Linked DNA regions of Homo sapiens: all the other regions are linked to region 3. Evidence: promoter capture Hi-C in 16 types of primary human blood cells and fetal thymus (Javierre and others, 2016). All regions are on one chromosome and are shown on one strand. Each heading gives the region's core, a stretch centred on a gene start or on the middle of the fragment in contact. The rest is flanking DNA. Distances are from core to core; before and after follow the strand shown.

The links. Contacts are between HindIII fragments. The CHiCAGO score rates a contact against its expected background, and 5 or more counts as called.
Region 1: a fragment that was not itself captured here is called in contact with the fragment with the promoter of ITLN2 in region 3 in 6 of 17 cell types (M0 macrophages, M2 macrophages, M1 macrophages and 3 more); the score reaches 9.3 in M0 macrophages.
Region 2: a contact is called between the fragment with the promoter of ITLN1 here and the fragment with the promoter of ITLN2 in region 3, in 2 of 17 cell types (M2 macrophages and M0 macrophages). The highest score is 5.6, in M2 macrophages.
Region 4: a contact is called between a fragment that was not itself captured here and the fragment with the promoter of ITLN2 in region 3, in 2 of 17 cell types (M2 macrophages and M0 macrophages). The highest score is 6.3, in M2 macrophages.

What each region holds. Positions count from the first base shown.
Region 1 is chr1:160,848,690-160,851,554 of GRCh38, forward strand. All of the region lies in intron 1 of CD244 (CD244 molecule), which reads right to left. Among named protein-coding and RNA genes, the nearest start is that of CD244, 13 kb to the right of the region's middle. The HindIII fragment of the contact is 2,789 bases long and covers 106-2,865 here.
Region 2 is chr1:160,883,780-160,886,528 of GRCh38, forward strand. ITLN1 (intelectin 1) reads right to left here and starts at 1,401. Exons shown (of 8, transcript NM_017625.3): 1 at 1,282-1,401; 2 at 1,041-1,104. The coding sequence starts at 1,098. The HindIII fragment of the contact is 4,692 bases long and covers 1-1,412 here.
Region 3 is chr1:160,953,420-160,956,262 of GRCh38, forward strand. ITLN2 (intelectin 2) reads right to left here and starts at 1,390. Exons shown (of 8, transcript NM_080878.3): 1 at 1,308-1,390; 2 at 968-1,031. The coding sequence starts at 1,322. The HindIII fragment of the contact is 24,751 bases long and covers 1-2,843 here.
Region 4 is chr1:160,866,822-160,869,521 of GRCh38, forward strand. No RefSeq gene overlaps it. Among named protein-coding and RNA genes, the nearest start is that of CD244, 5.3 kb to the left of the region's middle. The HindIII fragment of the contact is 3,347 bases long and covers 1-2,700 here.

The DNA.
Region 1 (2,865 bases), core at 250-2,749, 100 kb before region 3:
TGCCTATGAAGTGAAGTCTCCATAAAAACCCAAGAGGACTGGGCTTGGAGAGCCTCCAGATAGCTGGAGATTCCTGGCATGCAGTGTGCCCAGGGAAGGCATGGAAGCTTCGTGTCCCTTCCCCCATACCTTGCCCTATGCCATCTCTTCATCTGTATCCTTTGTAATATCTCTTATAATAGACCAGCAAACATAAATGTTTCCCTGGTTTATGTGAGCCACTCCAGCAAATTAATTGAACCCAAGGAGGGGGTTGTGAGAACCCCAACTGGAAGCTGGTTGGTCCGAAGTTCTGGAGGCCCAGACTTAGAACTGGTGTGGTGGAGGGGTGGTGTTGGGGACTGAGCCCCCAGCCTCTGTGGTCTGACACTCTCTCCAGTTAGTGTCTGAACTGAATTGGAGAACACCCAGCTGGTGTCCACTGCAGAATACATTATTCAGTTTGCTGTGAGGAGAAATCCACCTCCCTGCATTTGGTCACAGAAGTCTTCTATGTTGATGATTGTTATTATTTTGATGTGGGAGCAGAGGAAAAACATGGTTGGAGAGGTTTGTTCAAAACAACAAACATTCACATTTGTACCCATCTCTTTCTTTTTTTTTTTTTTGTTTTACTTTAAGTTCTGGGATACGTATGCAGAACATGCAGATTTGTTACGTAGGTATACGTGTGCCATGGTGGTTTGCTGCACCTATCAACCCATCATCTAGGTTTTAAGCCCCACATGCATTAGGTATTTGTCCTAATGCCTCCCTCCCCTTGCCCCTCACCCACTAACAGGCCCTGGTGTGTGATATTCCCGTCCCTGTGCCCATATGTTCTCATTGTTCAACTCCCACTTTGAGTGAGAACACGTGGTGTTTGGTTTTCTGTTCCTGTGTTAGTTTGCTGAGAACGATGGCTTCCAGCTTCATCCATGTCCCTGCAAACTCAGGAACAGAAAAAGGATTCCATAATTACCTCTTTTAATCAACATTGTACTGGAGGTCATGGCTAGTTCAACAAAACAAGGAAAATAGTCAAAGGGAATAAAAATTAGAAATGAATATGTGAGGCTGGGCGCAGTGGCTCACGCCTGTAATCCCAGCACTTTGGGCAGCTCACCTGAGGTCAGGAGTTCGAGACCAGCCTGGCCAACACAGTGAAACTCCATCTCTACTAAAAATACAAAAATTAGCCAGGCGGGTGGCAGTCACCTGAAATCCCAGCTACTCGGGAGGCTGAGGCAGGAGAATCACTTGAACCCGGGAAGCGGAGGCTGCAGTGAGCCAAGATGGCACCATTGCACTCCAGCCTGGGCAACAAGAGCAAAACTCCATCTCAAAAAAAAAATGAATATGTGAAACTGTCATTATTCACAAACTATATACCTGTGTATATAGGAAACCAAGAGGACTATATGAAAAATTATTTGAGTGTAGAAGTCAGTTTTGCAAAATTGCTAGATATAAGGTCAATATACAAAAATCATTTTTATTTCTATATATTAGTACAAACAGATAAAAATGAAATTTTGAAAACAATACTATTTACAGCAGCACAAAAAAGATAAAATATATAGAAATAATTTCAAGAAGAAATATTTAAGACCTATACACCTATTGCAACAAAAGATTGCTGAGAAAAAATTAAAGAGCTAAATAAACAGGAGACTATACCATGGTTTTTATTGGAAGACTTAATATTGCTAAGATGTCAATTCTTCCTAAATTAATTTATAGATTCAATAGAATTCCAATAAAAATTATTGCAGGTTATTTTTATAGAAATTAACAAGTTGATTCTAAAACTTATATGAAAATGTAAAAGACATAGAATAGCCAAGGCAATCTTGATGAAGAACAAAGCTAGAAGGTTTTCACTACCTAATATCAAGATATATTGTAAAACTTCAGAAATTAAGATAGCATTCCAGTATTGCAAGGATTGAAAAGTAGTCGATGGAATATAATAGTCTAGAAATAGACCCTGTGTGTGGGAAAAACACTAACTGTTTTTCCTCTGGTTTCACACCACAACAATCAACACAGAAGACTTCTGTGACCAACGTGTGGGGAGTTTCCCACGTGCCAAGCAAGCAATCAGCTCTTCAGTGGACACCAACTGGATGTCCTCTAATTCAGTTCAATTCTGACACTATCTACCTGTAGATATCCACCAGATGCCAACTGCAAGCTCCAGATTGTTTTACCTGCGCTTCTGACCAACTAGCTATAAACTGGGTTTCCCGTTATTCCCTCCTTGGGTTCAATTAATTTGCTAGATGGCTCACAGAACTCAGGGAAACACATTCACTGGATTATTATAAAGGTTATTACAAAGGGTACCTATGAAGAGATGCATAGGACAAGGTGTAGGGGAAGGGATACAGAGTTTCCATGCCTTCCCAGGGCGTGCCACCCTCCAGGAACCTCCGCATGTTTAGCTCTCTGAACCTTGTTCTTTGGGTTTTTATGGAGGCCTCAATAAATGGGAATGATTGACCACTGGCCATCGGTGATCAACTTAACCTTCAATCCCTCTCCTTTTCCTGAAGGTTGGGGACGGGCTCAGAGTCCAATATTCCAACCCTGCCTTGGTCTTTCTGGTGACCGGCCCCTATCCCGAAGCTGCCTACAGGCTGCCAGCCATCGGTCACCTCATTAGCCTACAAAAAGACATCACTTCGGAATTTCTAAAAATTTTAGGAATTGTATGCCAGGAAAGGAGGTTGAAAACCAAATATATATTTCACAATATCACACAAACCAACACATACTTGATCTTTTCAATAAATGGTGCTTGGTCAAATTGATATCTATAAGGAAAAAAAACCTTGATATCTCCCTCATATCATATACAAAAATTAATTTAAAACAAATCAT
Region 2 (2,749 bases), core at 151-2,650, 70 kb before region 3:
GTCCTTGTGCTGGGTCCTGCCCTAAGCACTGAGTAATCAAAGACATTAAAGTTCCCCAGCAAGAGCTTGCCTCTAGAGGGAATTGCTAACAAGTCAACAGAAAATTGTATTGACAAGAATAAATGGTAGAAGAAAGGCAAACTCAAGAGAACAAAAGAAAGACTCTGAGGTAACAGTGGAGAATGGAAACGCCAGACAGTAAGCGGGGCAGTTGCCTGGGAGAAGAAGGCAAGACGGGTTGTCTCATGTCTTAGTCACAGAAGACCTTCCAGTCCAGGTGACATCTTAGCTTATTCTGAGAGAATAAACATGATTTATCAGTAGGAAGCCAATCCAAGGCAGGGAAAACAGCATATCCAAAGGCCTAGAGAAAAAAAAAAAAATACAGCGTAGTCCAGCTGTAGAACTACAAGCTGCTTAATATGGCTGAAACATGGGGTGTGAAGTAGGGAGTGGTGAGACTAATCTCTACTCCAAAAAGTCTGCAAACTATTCGAACAGTCTAGGGGAAAGCTGTGAGGTCAGAGGTGACTGACCTCAGTTTCCTCATACCTAAAACACAGTTAATAAACAGTGCTTTTGCAAAGATGAAGTAAGAAGATATTTCGAAACAGCCTTTTCTTTAAAAAAAAAATTTTTAGACGTGAAGAAAAATATAAATTTTAAAATGTCATTGTTATTCTTGTTGTAGAGAGGAAAACTGTGGAGAGAACATTCTCCAGGCACAAAGCAGACCATGTAGTTCCCATGGAAATCCCACAGCCAAGGCCACAGGAGTGGGCAGTGGCTGGAAGGTGACACAGTTCTTGCCACAGCCCCCTCAGGGCCACACAAAAGCACAGAGCCTGGACCCAGGACATGCCTCAAGCAATACCTTCACTGCCACAGGCCAGATTCCGCCAGAGACCAGAAATCGGCACTCAGTCTACATGCAAGCCAGCCGCTGTGCATCTCAAGGACATGCTCTGTGTCCTGGGAGAGACCAGGATCCCGGAAGTCATCCAGCTGAAGGAACTGCTGTCCCTAGCAGCGTGACTCACCTGTACTCCATCCTCTGGTGGTCGCTATGAGAAACAGCAGGAAGCTGAGTTGGTTCATTGTAATCTAAAGAAAGCAAGATGAAGGTCACCATCTTGGCCATCATTTTTCTCTACATCCCTGCCCCACCCCTGTCCAGTCTTACAAAGACTCCAAAACCCCTTGCCTTTTGTTTAAACTTCACACATCTCTGAGACCAAAAGCAGACCTAAGCTGAAAACAGGATTCCCCCAACTCACAGACCTTGTCTGAGTCTCAGCTGCACTTTCCTTGGGTACAGAGAGCTCCTTCACTCCCTCCCTCCACTGCGCCCTGGAGCTCAACAGAGTGCAGCTTTCTCCAAAAACGCTCCTGATGTGGAATGAGGTGCAGAAAGCTTTATGGAGGAAGCCCAGTGGGGCCAACCAAGGTTTCCAGCCTCACCCTCCCCTGGCACAATGCCCAGTGCAGGGGAGGCTTCTGGTTATCTCGGGGAGGTTATTTATACAGTGGAATTAACAGGTTCTAAAGAAAAAACCAATCCTAAGAATCACCTGCTAGCGTTGTTCCTGGATCTGGGGGTTTCATGGACCTGTGTCAAGTAGGAAGTAGACGAAGAGATTAACAAGAGTTGGTGTTGGTTTTGGGTTTTTGTGCCTTTCTTTCTTGCAAAATAAAAACTTTCTCTAAATTAAGCATCTGTTGGCTTGGCACATTGGCTCAAATCCCAATACTTTGGGAGGCCAAGGCAGAAGGATCACTTGAACTCAGGAGTTTGAGACCAGCCTGGGCAACATAGGGCAACCTCTTCTCTACTAAAAATAAAAGTAAAAAAATTAGCATGGCATGGTGGTACTTGCCTATAGTTTCAGGTGGGGCTGAGGCAAGGCAAAAGGGTAACTTAAGTCCCAGAGATAGAGGATTCAGTGAAATATGACCGTGCCACTGTACTTCAGCTTAGGTATCTCAAAATAAATAAATAAATGAAATTAATCATTGGCCATAATTATCAATTCATAGAAATAGAAAAAGGAAATTTTAACAAAATGGGAAAGTGATCATTTCTGAATAAATTGGTAAAAAGGAATGGAGGGGAAAGAGATACAAAACACACAAAAAAATACGAATAGAAAAGTTTTAAAAAATATATAAATCTTTAGTTTGAATAATTTAGTTTCACACAAAGACTCACTACTTTGTCTTTAATTTTGTCATTTTGCCACAAACGAGGGAAAATTTACTACAGGATTCATTTGAAACTGAATCAATACGAAACCTCTCTGCTGCTTCGAACCTCCTGTCTTATTCCTGCTCCTATGTCATGAAGTTCTCAAATGCTACCCTGCAGCTGTAATAGAATTACTCAGTTCTTCCCCAGTGATATCATACATTTAATACATAATGTCATTATAGCATTAATAATACTGCAACCTTTTCTTACAAAGATTGTGAATATCTTTTTTGTTAAGCTAATATTTCCTATTTGTTGGTTCAAAGTACTGATTTGCAAAAAATACTCACATATTGATAGAAGAAAATAAAATAGCACCCAAGAAGAAAAACTGCAAAAAAAAGTTATACTTTTGTAAATTTAAAATCTATTAGAAGCTATTTGCTCTGTGTATCTGGAAAATAATTAATTAAATAAAATTAAATGTATTAGAAACTAAATTAACTCATCAGTATAGGTAACAAAATGAACATACCCAGCTTTCATATTTACAAACAACAA
Region 3 (2,843 bases), core at 140-2,639:
ACAGGACTCAGGCCAGGCACAGTGGCTCATGCCGGTAATCCCAGCACTTTCGGAGGCCGAGGAGGGTGGATCACAAGATCAGGAGTTCAAGAACAGCCTGGTCAATATGGTGAAACCCCATCTCTACTAAAAATACAAAAATTAGCTGGGGTGTGGTGGTGCACACCTGTAATCCCAGCTACTGGGGAGGCTGAGGCAGGAGAAGCTCTTTAACCCAGGAGACGGAGGTTGCAGTGAGCCGACATCACGCCACCGCACTCCAACCTGGGCAACAGAGCAAGACTCCGTCTAAAAAAAAAAAAATTACAGGACTCAAGGTAAAATCCAGACAAACCCTGATGACAGTGCCTCCTTGAGCAGACACTTAACATCTCTGATCCTTTTTCTTCATCTTTAAGATGTCATTAATAACTTCTTTATACGCATGGAGATCAAATGAGATGACATATGTAAATGTGCTTTTTTTAACTGATGGATTGAAATAAACAATAAACCCAGTATCAATGAAAAAATATCACTATTGTGCCTACTGGAAGAATAGAATTGTGAGGATTCTATTCTCACAATATCCTCCTCTGCGACTAGAGGAGGGTGTACCCTGGACACAGCACTGATCACCCAGCTGCCTCTGGAGATCCCAAGGCCAAGGCCACAAGAGCAGCTGAGCAGGGACACAGTTCTTACTCTCTCACCCCATGAACCCCTCACAGCCACAGAAGCAGAGAATCAAGCCCTAGGAAATACCTGAGCTAACACCCTGACTGCTTCAGACCAGACCCCAGGAGAGGCCAGAAATCAGCACCCAGTCCACACCTCAAGTTGGCTGCCTAGCCTGGGTTCCCTGCCTCTCCAGAACTTCCCCTTTGACCCTTGACTTCAGAGCCCTGCCCAGCTCTACTCCCTCCAGGCCCTGCACAGCAGAGGGGAGCCCAGGAAACTGCAGCTCCTACTCTCAGAAGCCATTTACCTGCACTGCACCCACTGGTGGCCACAGAGAAGAATAACAGGAAGCAGAGTCTGGTCATTGTCCTCTAAGGAAAAACAAGATGCACAAGGTCACTGGCTGGCCCTTCCTTTGTCATCCTCTCGTTCTTACTTCCTAACCTTTCTGAGTCAGGAATCCTCAAATGGAAAGTGATGGGCTCATGAGCATTCTAAAACCTCCTGGAATATGCCCCACGGCTGTCCAACACTACAAATACCCAAGGGGCCATGGGCTCATTTCCCTGAAACTCTAAATCTCTAAAACTGAGACCTGAGCTGGCATCATTGCTCCCACACACATGGATCAAAAACATTTTTCTCACCAGCATGGACAGCATCCTTACAGATGCCAGGAGCTGATAGTTCCCTTCCTGTGGACACTCGGAGCTCCCCTGCAGAGGATCCTGATGAAGGGTGAAGTGCTGGTCCCTTTATGTGGAGAGCTGTGGAGAGCCAAACCACCTGAGCCCTGCCCAGCCCAACCCTGAGCAGCCTAGGCTGCTAGCCCCTCCCTCTGAAGCCCTTCCCTCTGAGGGTACCTGAGCCTGGGACCGTGGAAATGAGAAAGGACGTGCGACTGGCTGGAGGAGCAGGGAGCTGTGTTCCTGGCCACACAGGTGACTGTCGCCATCTGAGGAGGGGCATCCTGCTTTGCCAAGGCAGGCCATACAATGTAGCAGTATCTAATCAGATTCGTGGATAGGTCACAATCCTCCCCTGCGTTCTCCCTCTCCCACCTCCCCCAGATGCCCTGGCCCCCTAGACACAACTCTGTCAAGAAATCATCCTTTTAGACTGAGGTGACACCTCATGAAAAATAAATTAATTAATTAAGAATAATAATTGGCCAGGCACAGTGGCTCACACCTATAATCATAGCGCTTTGGGAGGCCGAGGTGGGCGGATTACCTGAGGTCAGGAGTTCAAGACCAGCCAACATGGTGCAACCCTGTCTCTACTAAAAATACAAAAATTTAGCTGGGTGCAGTGGCGTGCACCCGTAATCCCAGCTACTCTGGAGGCTGAGACAGGAGAACTGCTTGAACCCAGGAGGTGGAGGTTGCAGTGAGCCAAGACTGCTCCACTGCACTCCAGCCTGGGCAACAGAGCAAGACTTCACCTCAAAATAATAATAATAATAATAATAATAAATAAATGGGAAAAGAAGACATCATCCTTCCAATCTTTCCTCCAATTTCTCTATGAGGCCTTCCCTGACACCCCCATCACCAGACAAAGCTGATGGATCCTTCCTTTGTCCCACTATACACTGTCCAAACACTAATTATTGCATGTATCCTGCTGTAATTTTATTGTTTTATTAACTCTGTTTAGAAACAATTTGAAATTTATTAAATGTTGCAAAAATAACAATAATATAAAGCCACATATATGCCCTTTACCTAGATTCAACTATTGTTAATATTTCACCCCATTTGCTTTATCTTTCGTGTTCTCTCTCTCTCTCTCTATATATATATAGATATATGTATATAAAATACACCCACACACACAAAATTTTTTTCTGAACCATTTGAAGGTAAGGTACATACATCATGGGCTTTTACCTTTAAATAAATGCGTATGGGTTTTTTTTATTTTGTTTTGTTTTTTGACACAGAGCCTCACTCTGTCACCCAGGTTGGAGTGCAATGGCATGGTCTCAGCTTACTGCAACCCCCGCCTCCCAGGTTCAAGTGATTCTCCTGTCTCAGCCTCCCGAGTAACTGGGATTACAGGCACCCACCACCACGCCCAGCTAATTTTTGTATTTTTAGTAGATACGGGGTTTTGCCATCTTGGCCAGGCTGGTCTTGAACTCGTGACCTCGTGATCCACCTGCCTCGGCCTCCCAAGTG
Region 4 (2,700 bases), core at 82-2,581, 87 kb before region 3:
TTCTATGTACATTTATCTTCTGTGGGCTTTCACTTGTTGGAAGAGAAGTAGCCAGTTATTGTTTATTTATTGGCTGTGATAACTTTCAGGTTCAGGTTAAAGGTAAGAGATGCAACAGTCTCATAAAGAAGATGGAAGACAGAGCCTCTCAAAACAATTTATGGGACATCAGATAACGCAGAGAACCCACATCCACAGGAGCAAAGGCTAAAGAGTGCAATCCATGTCTTAACTCATCTCAGAATTCAACATAACAAGAAATTTGCCATTCCCAGATTCAGTGTGAGAAACAGCTCTGACGATGCAGAGAACCGCAGGCTATCTCTCTGACACTAGCAATGTGGTGTGGGAAATGGAATCAATCTCTGCTTCCCTGTGTTGGAACAAAATGTTTCTACGTGAAAAAGGTACAAAAAAGTTTTCCCAAATTGCAAGGGAAATGCACCATAGAATAGCCTCCTATTTAGCCTCCTATTTAAAGATAATTAAATATAAATTTGTCTTATACATTTGTATCTTTTATTACATTGTATAAATCAGAATCTGATTTAGTATGAAATTATATTCTGAGATTTTTATGTTTGACATATTAGTAGACCAAGTGTTTTGCAATTAAAAAAAAAAAAACATAATGACTTCTAAGTGCCCTACCATCTAGTTTGTGAATTTTATCTAGTTTGTGAATTACAAATACAGAAAATCAAAATTGGGGTTATAATGATAAAGTCATTTGTGCAAGCCAATGTTCTCTTTTAATTTTTCTGTGCTACGTTGACACCTAGAAAGAAATGAATGTGATCAAAGTTTAGTGGTGTAATCAGATAAACTTATGATATGGTTTGGCTGTGTCCCCACCAAAATCTCAACTTGAATTGTATCTCCCAGAATTCCCACGTGCTGTGGGAGGGACCCAGGGGGAGGTAACTGAATCATAGGGGAGGGTCTTTCCTGTGCTAGTCTCGTGATAGTGAATAAGACTCACGAGATCTGACAGGTTTATCAGGGTTTCCACTTTGCTCCTTCCTCATTTTCTCTTGCTGCCACCATGTAAGAAGTACCTTTCACCTCCCACCATGATTGTGAGGCCTCCCCGGCCATGTGGAACTGTAAGTCCAATTAAACTTCTTTTTCTTCCCAGTCTTGGGTCTGTCTTTATCAGCAGAGTGAAAACAGACCAATACAACTTACAACCAAATTGTTATTTTAGTGGTTTGAATATCCATAATTGACCATGAAATTGTTTTGACATGACAAAACTTTACTGTGGAGTATTTTATTCTACATCACATTGCTATTTTATTCTATTTCACATTGCTGTTTATCCCTCATGTAGAATCCTCATCAGTGCTGAGAGTTTCCCTGATTCTATGTGTCACTGAACCTACCACACAGGTTGCATGGGCCCACACATTCACATATGAGATTATAGAAGATGAAGAACCTAAAACTGGCTTCCTGTTCTCTAAGAGTTCCTCTTCTTCTTCCCCTATCCGTGTGCTAACTGACCTCCCTACATGATTTTCATGTGAAGCTCTCTGGGTTTTTCTGGCATACCCTCTCCTGCTAAGAAGTTGCCTCTGGCCAGGTGCGATGACTCACACCTGTAATCTTAACATTTTGGGCGGCTGAGTTCAAGAATTTAATGGGCAAAAATAAAGAAGTCTGGTAATACCAAGTATTTGAGGGCATATGGATCAATTGGATCAATTATATACAGCTGATGGGAATGTAAATTGGTACAATTCTGTGGAAATAAATTGGTGTTATCTTGTAAAGTAAAATATTTATAAACTCTAATGATCCAGCAATATGACATCTAGTTATATACCTACATATAAGAGACAGTTTAGCACATATATACCTGGAGACACATATGACAATGTGCATAACAGCATTGTTTTTTATTGGAAAAAAAACTGGAGACAAAACAAATGGCAATGGGAGAGTGGAAAAACAAGATGTGATCTATTCATACAATGTAAATTCAATAGCATCAAAAATGAATGTGGGACAGCACAGGAGAACAGTAGTTACATAATGTCATAGGAAAAAATAAGCACCAGAAGACAATATACAATATGATAGTATTTTTATATAGTTTAAAAACAAAAAATTAAACATATTATTTGGGCATCTGCATGATGTGTGTGCATGATTGTTAAAAAGTAGCTTAAGCAATAGGATCTTAACCACAAATTGAGATAATGGCAACAACTAAGGAAGAAGGGAGGGATGGAGTGACATAGAGGAACACAGAGGTAGGTGTAGATTAATAATAATATTCTAGTTGTTGGGTTGTGTCATGATAAGCGTCCATTGCATTGTGAAACAAAGGAAGGTGAGAGAGAGGTGGACGGGGGTAGAAGGAGAGTGAGAGAGGGAGCTGACCTAGCTGCCATGCGTCTCTGGCTGCTTGTTACAACCACAAAGAAAGACCACTAATACCACCTCATCATGAAACCTTTCAGGTAATCATTAGTGTTGTTCACTCTGATACAATTCTCCTCTTTTGGGGCAGGGTGGGGACATGGAAGGCTGCACTTCTCTTTGGAGTTAAACAGGACCATGTGTCTTGCTCTGGCCAAGCAATGTAAGCAGAAAGTGTCACTGTCAGGCTGAAGCCTTTAGGAGAAGCAAGACACCAGTCAACACACTCCTTTCTCCAGCTTCAGTAAATACCTAAAACACGTAGCATTGGCT